Linked DNA regions of Homo sapiens: regions 1 and 2 are each linked to region 3. The links are contacts of gene promoters, found by promoter capture Hi-C in human tissues and cell types (Jung and others, 2019). All regions are on one chromosome and are shown on one strand. Each heading gives the region's core, a stretch centred on a gene start or on the middle of the fragment in contact. The rest is flanking DNA. Distances are from core to core; before and after follow the strand shown.

Region 1 (3,520 bases), core at 216-2,715, 1.1 Mb after region 3:
TAAAAGGTTGAACATTACTGTATAAGACTACAGATCACACAATTCTGCATGTTTTATTTTATAATATTTTATTTTTATTTTTGGTAGCAGAAGGATCTCACTATTTTGCCCAAGCTGGCCTTGAACTCCTGGCCTCAAGTGATCCTCCCACATCAGCCTCCCAAAATGCTGGGATTATAGGCATGAGCCACCACTCCTGGCCTAGATAAACTTTGATTTCTCTTTTATTATAAAGGTAACATGTTTGTTACCTTTTGCTACCATGTTTGTTACATGGTTGTATTTGGAAAATATAGTAGAAGTATACAAAAGAAAATGTAGACTTGTTATACTGTAACACCCAGCCAGAGATAAGCACTATTAATGCTTTGGCATATTATTTGTATTGTCTTTCTGATAAATAGAGATAAGATAGATGTCATTGTATATAGTTTCATATCTTACATTTTCTAACAATTTTGTAAGCATGTTCTTGTCATTTAGTTTTTTTAATGTTATATGTTAATGTCTCCATAATAATTTAATTACATCTGTGTACAACAATTTATTAAGCATTTCTTTGTTATTGAGAGAGTGTTTCTAACCCTTTGCTTATCTTATATAATGTAGCAATGAAAACCCTCTTGCGTGAATAGTTCTTTGAACTGCTGTGTTTTTCCTCAGCAGATTCCTTACAAAAAGAATTTCAGGATAAAGGTATACAAAGATTTTTAAGTTTCTTAAATAAATTGTCAAATAGTTTTCTAGATAAGTGGCAACAATTTATACTTCTACTGGCTGTCACAACAGTAAGAACTGTCATGTTTTATTTTATTTATTTATTTATTTATTTATTTTTGAGACAGTCTCACTGTGTCACCCAGGCTGGAGTACAGTGGAGCAATCATGACTCACTGCAGCTTCTACCTCTTGGGCTCAAGCCATACTCCCACCTCTGCCTCCCAAGTAGCTGGGACTACAGGCGCTTGCCAACACACCCAGCTAATTTTTGTATTTTTCATAGAGACAGAGTTTTGCCATGTTGCCCAGGCTGGCCTCCAACTCCTGAGTTCAAGTGATCCACCCACCCTGGCCTCCCAAAGTGCTGGCATTACAGGAGTGAGCCACTGCACCTGGCCAAAACCTGTCATGTTTTATAATGTTTGGAACTTTATATATGCAAAAAAAAAGTGATAACAAAGTTTTATTGAAATTTTCTTGAGTTTATTTTGTGTGGTTGAAAACTCTGTGTATGTTTATAGAATGCTCTATTTATAATCTTTGCCCATTTTTCTTTCCTAGTGAAATATTCTTATTTATTTATATGAGCTTTCATGAGATTTATATGAGATATATATATACATGCATATGTATATTAATCCTTTGCTATCTATGCTGCAAATTTTTTCTACATGTTTTCTGTCTTTTAATTTTGCTAATGATTTCAACATTAAAAAGTTTTAGGCTGGGCACGGTGGCTCACGCCTGTAAGCCCAGCACTTTGGGAGGCCAAGGCAGGCACATCACTTGAGGTCAGGAGTTCAAGACCAGCCTGACCAACATAGCCAAACCCTGTCTGTCCTAGAAGTACAAAAAAATTAACCAGGCATGGTATGTGTGCCTGTAATACCAGATACTCAGGAGTCTGAAGCAGGAGAATTGCTTGAACCCGGGAAGCAGAGGTTGCAGTGAGCCAAGATCTCACCACTGTACTCCAGCCTGGGCAACAGAGTGGGACTCCATCTGAAAAAACAAAAACAAAAACAAAAAACAAAAAAGAACCCCTTAAATTTACTTGTATTCAAATCTTTGCTTTTACCTTGTAATTTCTTCCATGCTTTTTGTTTATAATTCCTTCTCCACTTTGAAGACAGGAGAATATTTATTTGTATTTTGAGATGTTTTATTTTTTGTAATTAACTTGATAATTCATCTTGTGTTTATTTTACATGTAGCACGAGGTGAAGATTTAACTGGCGATCATTCCCCAAACTGTTTGCTGACTAATCCATTTGTGTGTGGTTTTCCTTATCATGTATTAGATCCCCACACACATCATGGGTGTCTTGGCCTATACCCCAAACTCCCTTTCAGGAATGAAGGACTTTGTTTCTCCAGCAGCTAGAAGACAGCTCTCAGCTGCCAGTTCTTTGGGGATTGACTCTGCAGAAAAAAAAAAAAAAATCTGCCTGAAAAAGAATCTAAATGACCTTCTAAGCCCCACAGCTCCCTATGTGGTGTGTGGCTGCAGCCTTTCTTGGGACTGAATCACAGCTCAACTTATCTCTGTGCTCAATTTCACTTCTGTCCTCTCCTTCCATGCTCACCCCAAGCACACTCCCTAATGAATGTCTGATATGGTCTGGCTGTGTGTCCCAACTCAAATCTCCTCTTGCATTGTAATCCAAATTATAATCCCTATATGTTGAGGGAGGGACCTCACGGGAAGTGATTAGATCATGGGGGCAGTTCCCCCATGCTGTCCTCATGATAGTGAGTAAGTTCTCATGCTATCCGATGGTTTTATAAAGGGCTTTTCCCCCACTTCACTCTTCACTCATTCTCTCTCCTGCCACCCCGTAAAGAGGTGCTTTCTGCCATGATTGTAAGTTTCCTGAGGCCTCCCCAGCCAGGCAGAACTGTGAGTCAATTAAACCTCTTTTCTTTATAAATTACCCAGTCTCGGATATTTCTTCATAGCCGCATGAGAACTGACTAATACAAAGTCCTACAACCTAATCTCCATATCAGAGTCAGCTTCCAGGGAGTACAGCCTATGACATACATAAAGGCCCATGATCTGCAATCCAAAATTTCAAAATTAGCGAAGTTCTAAAAAGCACATTTTTTTTTCTTTTTCATGAGTTTCGTGCCAACGTTCACTTGGGAACAAAATATGACTTGAATCAGTTGGAGGCTGTTTGTAGTTTTTATGTGTCCTACTGAGTTTCATTACAGAAATATCAATATGTTTGTTTATGTAGTACTGGTCCTGACCCCACTGGGTTCTGAGGTCTATGAAGTATTCAGTAATATTTAGGATATAACCAAATTACCTTTCTGAAATTCAAATTTTAAATTCACAAACATATGTAACCCCAAGAATTTAAGACAAAGGACAGTGGGCCTATATGGGATATATTTTGAAATTTACCTTGATGTATATGCTGTTTTGATGGCAAAATCGTCATTAAGCATTTAAAAATCTCGTAAGTTAAGTCTTCTCCCTTAGTATTACTATTCTTTTGCAAAATACTTTTTGTTATTCCTACCTGTTTACTCTTTGAGATGAACTTCAGAATCATTTTACCAAATTATCTCCCCAAATTGAGATTTCCCTTGAAATAATACTATGCCTAAAAGTTAATCCAGGGACCATTAATATCTTCAAAGTATTTATCTCATCTAAGAATATGATAAGTCTATCTCTTTGTTGATGTTGACTTTTACAGCTCTAGGTAAGTTTTAAAACTTCTTCAGAAAAGCTCCACATGTATTTCATTAGAGTTATTGCAATGACCTAGATTTTTGTTGTTATTCT
Region 2 (3,459 bases), core at 42-2,541, 1.3 Mb after region 3:
AAAAAGAACCAAAACAGTCAAGGGAATTCTAGCAAAAGAACAAAGCTGGGGGCATCATATTACTGACTTCAAAATATACTCAAAGACAACAGTAAGCAAAACAACATGGTGCTGGTACAAAAATAGACCCATAGAGCAAAGGAACAAAATAAGAACCCAGAAATAAAGTCGCACACCTACAACCATTTGATCTTCAACAAAGTCGACAAAAATAAGCAATAGAGGAAGGACTCCCTGTTCAACAAATAGTGCTGGGATAGCCGGTGAGCCATATGCAGAAGAATGAAACTGGACCCCTACCTGTCCTCATGTATAAAAATTATCTCAAGACAGATTAAATATTTAAATGTAAGACCCCAAACTATACCAATCCTGGAGAAAAATCTGGGGAACCCCTTTCTGGATATCAACCTTGGGGAAAAATTTGTGACTAAGTCCTCAAAAGCAATTACAACAAAAACAAAAATTGACAAGTAGAACCTAATTGAACTAAAGAGCTTCTACACGACAAAAGAAACTATCAACAGAGTAAACAGACAATCTACAAAATGGGAGAAAATATTTGCAAACTATGCACCTGACAAATGTCTAATATTCACAATCTATAAGGAAATTAAACAATTGAATGAGGAATAACAAACAGCCCCATTTTAAAATGGGCAAAAGACATGAGCATACACTTCTCAAAAGGAGACATTCAAGAACCCAAAAAAAAGTGAAAAAATGCTCAACATCACAAATTATCAGAGAAATGCAAATCAAACCACAATGAGATACCATCTCACACCAGTCAGATTGGCTATGATTTAAAAAGTCAAAAAACAACAGATGTTGGCAAGGCTGCAGAGAAAAGAGAACACTTATACACTGTTGGTGGGAATGTAAATTAGTTCAGCCACTGTGGAGAGCAGTTTGGAGCTTTCTCAAAGAACTTAAAATAGAACTACCATTCCACCCAGCAATCCCATTACTGCATACATACCCCCAAAACCCAAATTGTTCTACCAAATAAAGACATGTGTACTTGTATGTTCATTGCAGCACTATTCACAATAGCAAAGACATGGAATCAACTAGGTGCCCATCAATGGTGGATTAGATAAAGAAACTGTAGCACATACATACCATGGAATACAAAGCAACCATAAAAAGAATGAAATCATGTCCTTTGCCGCAATATAGATACAGCTGAGGGCCATTATCTTAAGCAAATTAATGCAGAAACAGAAAACCAAATACCATATGTTCCCACTTATAAGTGGGAGCTAAACATTGGGCAGTCATGGACATAAAGATGACAACAATAGACACTGGGGACTACTAGAAGGGAGAAGGAAAAAGGGGGAAAGGGCTGAAAAACTAACTGTTGGGTACTATGCTTAGTACCTAGCTTACAGGATCAGTTACATCCCAAACCTTGGCATCACTCAATATACCCAGGTAACAAACCTACACAGGTACCCTCTGAATCTAAAATAAAAGTTGGAATTATTTTTTTAAATGAACCAAAAACCTTAACAGACACCTCACCAAAGAATATATACAGATGGCAACTAAGCATATGAAAAGATGCTCCACATCATATGTCGTCAGGGAAATGCAAATTAAAACAATGAGATACCACTATGAACCTACTGGAATAGCCAAAACCCAGAACATTGACTCCAGTAAATGCTGGTAAGAATGTGGGGCAGTAGGAACACTCACTCACTGCTGGTAGGAATGCAAAATGGTACCACAACCTTGGTAAACAGTTTGGCAGTTTCTTTAAAAAACAGACAAACTCTTACCACACAATTCAGCAACTGGACTCTTTGGTATTTATCCAGAGGAGTTTTAAATATATACCCCCACAAAAACTTGCATAGAGATGTTTATAGCAGCTTTATTCATAATTACCAGAACTTGAAAGCAACCAAGATGTCCATCAGTAGGTGAATGGATAAATAAACATTGATACATCAGGCAATAGAATACAATTCAGTGCTAAAAGGAAATGAGCTGTCAAGCCATAAAAGATATGGGGGAAACTTAAGTGCATATGACTAAGTTAAAGAAGTCCATCTGGAAAGAGTACATACTGTATGACTATACGCTATTCTGGAAAAGGCAAGACTCTGGAAACAGTAAAAAGATCAATGGTTGCCATGAATTAGCAGCAGGAAGGGGGAAAGGATCAACAGGCAAAATGCAGAGGTCAGTGAAACTACTCTATGATACTATAATGCTGGATACATCTTATTATACATTTGTGCAAACCCATAGAATGTATAATGCCAAGAGTGACCCCTCATGTAAGCCATGAACTTTGGGTAATAATGATGAGTTAATGTGAGTTTATCACTTGTAATGTAGCACTCTGATGAAGGGTGTTATTAATGGGGGAGGCAATGCATGTGCAGGGTGAGGGGATAGCTGAGTAATCTCTGTACCTTCTCAATTTTGCTATCAACCTGAAACTATTCTAAAAAAATTAAGCCTTTTAAAAAAAATGTACCTTTAATAAAAAATGTGAAGACGTTCTCATAGAAACTCTATGAATTTAGGATATGAATGTATAGTTATATATTTATATCTACACATATATAATGGATTAAAAATTAAATAGCACAGAAGCTATCATTTATAGAGTGAATTTCTAAAACTTATTTGATGCAATTAGGTAAGTGCAAATTTAAAACTAAAATGAAATACCTCCATACACCTATGTCAATTGCTAAAATTCAAAAGACTAATAATGCCACAAGTTGACAAGGATATGGAGCAACTAGGACTCTTATTCATTGCTGACAGAAATGCAAAATGATACAGCCACTTTGGAAAACAGTGTGGCAGTGTCTTATAATGTTACCAGTAATACCACTCCTAAAAATAAAAACATATGTCCACAGGAAAAAAAAACAGAATGTCCCATGGACCCCCATAAGTTTATTCCTATTACATACATATTCCACTGCCTAGCCAGCCCACAAGGCCAGAAAAAAAGAAGCTCTTTCTAAGCACTCCCTCCTGCAACTTATCATATCCAATCAGTTACTAAAGTTCCTTAATATTTTTGCATTCTCCATATTACTGTCTTCCTTGATGCAGAACATCATTACTTCAGGTCTAGGTGATATGGTTTTGCTGTGCCCCCACCCAAATCTTATCTTAAATTGCAGTTCCCATAATCCCCATGTGTCATGGGAGGGAAATGGTGGGAGGAAACTGAATCAATGGGGTGGTTACCCCCATGCTGTTCTCATGATAGTGAGTTCTCACAAGATCTGATGGTTTTATAGGAGGCTTTTCTCCTTTGCTCAGCATTTCTCCTTCCTGCCACCTTGTGAAGAAGGACATGTTTGCTTCCCCTTCTGCCATGATTGTAAGTTTCTTGAGGCATCCCCAGCCCTGCAGAACTGTGAGTCAGTCTAACCTCTTTCCTTTATAAAGGAAGTTCTTTAGAGCAGTGTGAGAATG
Region 3 (3,230 bases), core at 115-2,614:
CGAGATAGGCATGGCAAGTTCACTTGCTTTTCTGGGTTTATTTGGTGAGGAGCCTTCGTGCTGAAGGGAAATAAAAATGTCACAGAATCCCTGTTAGGAGATGCTTATTAGGGCAATCGAAAACAAAAGTTTTCGTGGTTTCATTATTCGTATTATTTTATTTTCTTCCTGAAAATGTGCAAGAACAGCTCATCTGGGTGGCCTGTGGTTTGTTTGGGAGAGGGGTGGGGAAATTCATTCTGACTATAATTTAAAGAGAAGAAATTCTTAAAATAGATATGTCGATGTTGCACAAAACCTCCACCACCACTACCCTGCGTTCTAAAGACCCAAGGCACGAATGGAAGACGTTGACCACCACGCAGCTCCTCCTGCAACCAGGCCCAAGGGGTTCCTGGGGAAGCTGTCACAGAATTGAAAGCAGTATTGAACCCCACGGAAATCTGCTCTTGTGGGCACTTGCAAAACAACGAACCCCACGTGATCCGGAGATGTGGTGGAGGGGTGAGGCTAACATTTCCTACAACCTCCTGCAAAGGATGGAAGCGCGTGCCGCTCTCCCGGGTTTCGGGAGGCAGCCTGTTTTGTAGCCTCTGAGGCTCCGGGGAAAGGTTTGGCTGCGTCTAAGAGAGACGTTTGGAGCCATCCGTCTTATTTTGTTTGAAAAGTCACTCGTTCAATTTGTCACTGTGTGACAGCTCAGAATAAAACCAATTTGCGGCCGCCCCTCCTCCTCGCTTCCCGGAGGATCTCCTGGGAGGCACGAGGCGGACGCGGTGCTGAGTTGGGCCGGGACTCAGGGCGGCAACATTTGGGCAAGGGCCCAGGAAAGATGAGGGGCTTTGCCGAGGACACGGACTCCTGGAATAAAAGCAGAATGAGGTCAAGAGAAGGGAAGCAAAGGGGCCAAAGCGCGCTCCGCTCTCCACCGGGAGGCGGGCTTTGCAGAGCCCTAAAGAGTGAGATTACCGTCCCTTCCCCACGCCCCCAACTCGCCCCGGGTGACAAGCGCTTCAGGAAAGCTCCTGTGATCAACCCTCCTTGCCCCGTGGCGGTTCGGAGCTGCAGAAGTTAGAAGAGAGTCAGAGCCCTCCGGAGCGGCTGCCTGGCCCCTACGCAGAGTAGCAAGAAGCACTGCGATGTGCGCTACTAAGCCCACGCGGCCGCAGCAAAAACTTTGGCGTGGCCGGGGCGTGGCTAGGGTCCGGCCAGGCCCCCTTGTTCCTAATTCCCCTCCACTCCCCGCTCCCATTGGTCACGAGGATGACCAATGAGCGCTCGGATCGAGGTCCTACCCCGGGCCTGACTCGAAAGCTCCTGCCAAAACTTTGGGAGTTTTTAGAGACGAGTTTTTTTTTTTTTCTATTACTTTTCCCCCCCCCTAACTAACGGACTATTATTGTTGTTGTTTTAAATTTAGCTCTTAGGGCTTAGCTATTTGGGTTTTCTTGCGGTGTCCGGCTCCCGTCTCCCTGGCTCCCCCGCCCGCCCTGCGGCCCCAGCGCCCCTCGCTCTCATCCAGCCCGCGAGGAGTGCGGGCGCCGCGCCGCCTTTAAAGCGAGGCCAGGGAGCGAGGCGGTGACCGGCCGAGATCCGGCCCTCGCCTCCTCCCTCGGTGGCGCTAGGGCTCCCGGCCTCTCTTCCTCAGTGCGGGCGGAGAAGCGAAAGCGGATCGTCCTCGGCTGCCGCCGCCTTCTCCGGGACTCGCGCGCCCCTCCCCGCGCGCCCACCCACCCAGTCCGGCTGGACTGCGGCAGCCGCGCGGCTCACCCCGGCAGGATGTTCGCAGCCGGGCTGGCTCCCTTCTACGCCTCCAACTTCAGCCTCTGGTCGGCCGCTTACTGCTCCTCGGCCGGCCCAGGCGGCTGCTCCTTCCCCTTGGACCCCGCCGCCGTCAAAAAGCCCTCCTTCTGCATCGCAGACATTCTGCACGCCGGCGTGGGGGATCTGGGGGCGGCCCCGGAGGGCCTGGCAGGGGCCTCGGCCGCCGCCCTCACCGCGCACTTGGGCTCGGTTCACCCGCACGCCTCTTTCCAAGCGGCGGCCAGATCCCCGCTTCGACCCACCCCAGTGGTGGCGCCCTCCGAAGTCCCGGCTGGCTTCCCGCAGCGGCTGTCTCCGCTCTCAGCCGCCTACCACCACCATCACCCGCAACAACAACAGCAGCAGCAACAGCCGCAGCAGCAACAGCCTCCGCCTCCGCCCCGGGCTGGCGCCCTGCAGCCCCCGGCCTCGGGGACGCGAGTGGTTCCGAACCCCCACCACAGTGGCTCTGCCCCGGCCCCCTCCAGCAAAGACCTCAAATTTGGAATTGACCGCATTTTATCTGCAGAATTTGACCCAAAAGTCAAAGAAGGCAACACGCTGAGAGGTAGGTCTTGGGCGGGAGGCTGCAGGCCTCTGACCACTGACCCACTCCCCGGACCCCGGGCTGGCTTGGGGTGCCTTTGAGTGTTTTTACAATTAAGGACAAATCGGTAAAACGGGAGAGAAGAAAACGAATTGTAAGAAAACTACAAAACATTAGGTCTAAAACTCACCTGTTCTATGTAAAACAAACAAAAAATGACTCCAGGGATTCTTTAAAAACACGTCTTAGAATCAATATTTATAAAAGTGGTTGGTGTAATTATCTGCTAACATGACTTTGATCTCTTTAATAATGTATCTAGAGACAGAATTATATTTTCTGACAGCTAAAGCATTTTTGGGAAACACTTTCGCACTTATCTGATTTCTAGTAAAAATTTCACCCAGGAAATGTAAATAATAAACAAAACCGCCTAGATGAGCGGGCAGAGTGGGGCCACCTTGGGGCGGAGGTTTTGCGTCTGTGGCGTTCTTGGAAGACACGTGAAAGTGAGGCCGTAAGCCGATTTATGTAAAGCCTTTACTTACTATATACATGCATATGGACGTGAGGGACACACAGGAACTTTTCGTGCGTCGCTCCTTGGCAACTGTTGGGAGAGAGAGGTTTCAGCGCCTAGACGGGTTCTCTCTTGACTTCGCTCAATAAAAGTGAATCCAGGGCAAGGGGAAGGGGAGGAACAAATCAGCGGAGAGTGTGAGTGTGCCCGAGATGTAACCTGCTATCCTTTTCCCTTGTCCCCAGATCTCACTTCCCTGCTAACCGGTGGGCGGCCCGCCGGGGTGCACCTCTCAGGCCTGCAGCCCTCGGCCGGCCAGTTCTTCGCATCTCTAGATCCCATTAACGAGGCTTCTGCAAT

What was found. Contacts are between HindIII fragments. The study calls those that stand out against the background at their distance.
Region 1: a fragment that was not itself captured here is called in contact with the fragment with the promoter of HLX in region 3 in 1 of the 25 tissues and cell types used here (aorta).
Region 2: a fragment that was not itself captured here is called in contact with the fragment with the promoter of HLX in region 3 in 1 of the 25 tissues and cell types used here (lymphoblastoid cells).

The regions. Positions count from the first base shown.
Region 1 is chr1:221,996,259-221,999,778 of GRCh38, forward strand. No RefSeq gene overlaps it. Among named protein-coding and RNA genes, the nearest start is that of LINC02257, 19 kb to the left of the region's middle. The HindIII fragment of the contact is 5,367 bases long and covers 1-3,520 here.
Region 2 is chr1:222,179,375-222,182,833 of GRCh38, forward strand. No RefSeq gene overlaps it. Among named protein-coding and RNA genes, the nearest start is that of LINC01705, 120 kb to the left of the region's middle. The HindIII fragment of the contact is 8,549 bases long and covers 1-3,459 here.
Region 3 is chr1:220,878,079-220,881,308 of GRCh38, forward strand. It overlaps HLX (H2.0 like homeobox), which reads left to right and starts at 1,365. Exons shown (of 4, transcript NM_021958.4): 1 at 1,365-2,371; 2 at 3,116-3,230. The coding sequence starts at 1,780. HLX-AS1 (HLX antisense RNA 1) reads right to left here and starts at 2,062. Exons shown (of 3, transcript NR_046901.1): 1 at 1,771-2,062. RefSeq lists a silencer at 922-971 and an enhancer at 2,090-2,698. The HindIII fragment of the contact is 15,886 bases long and covers 1-3,230 here.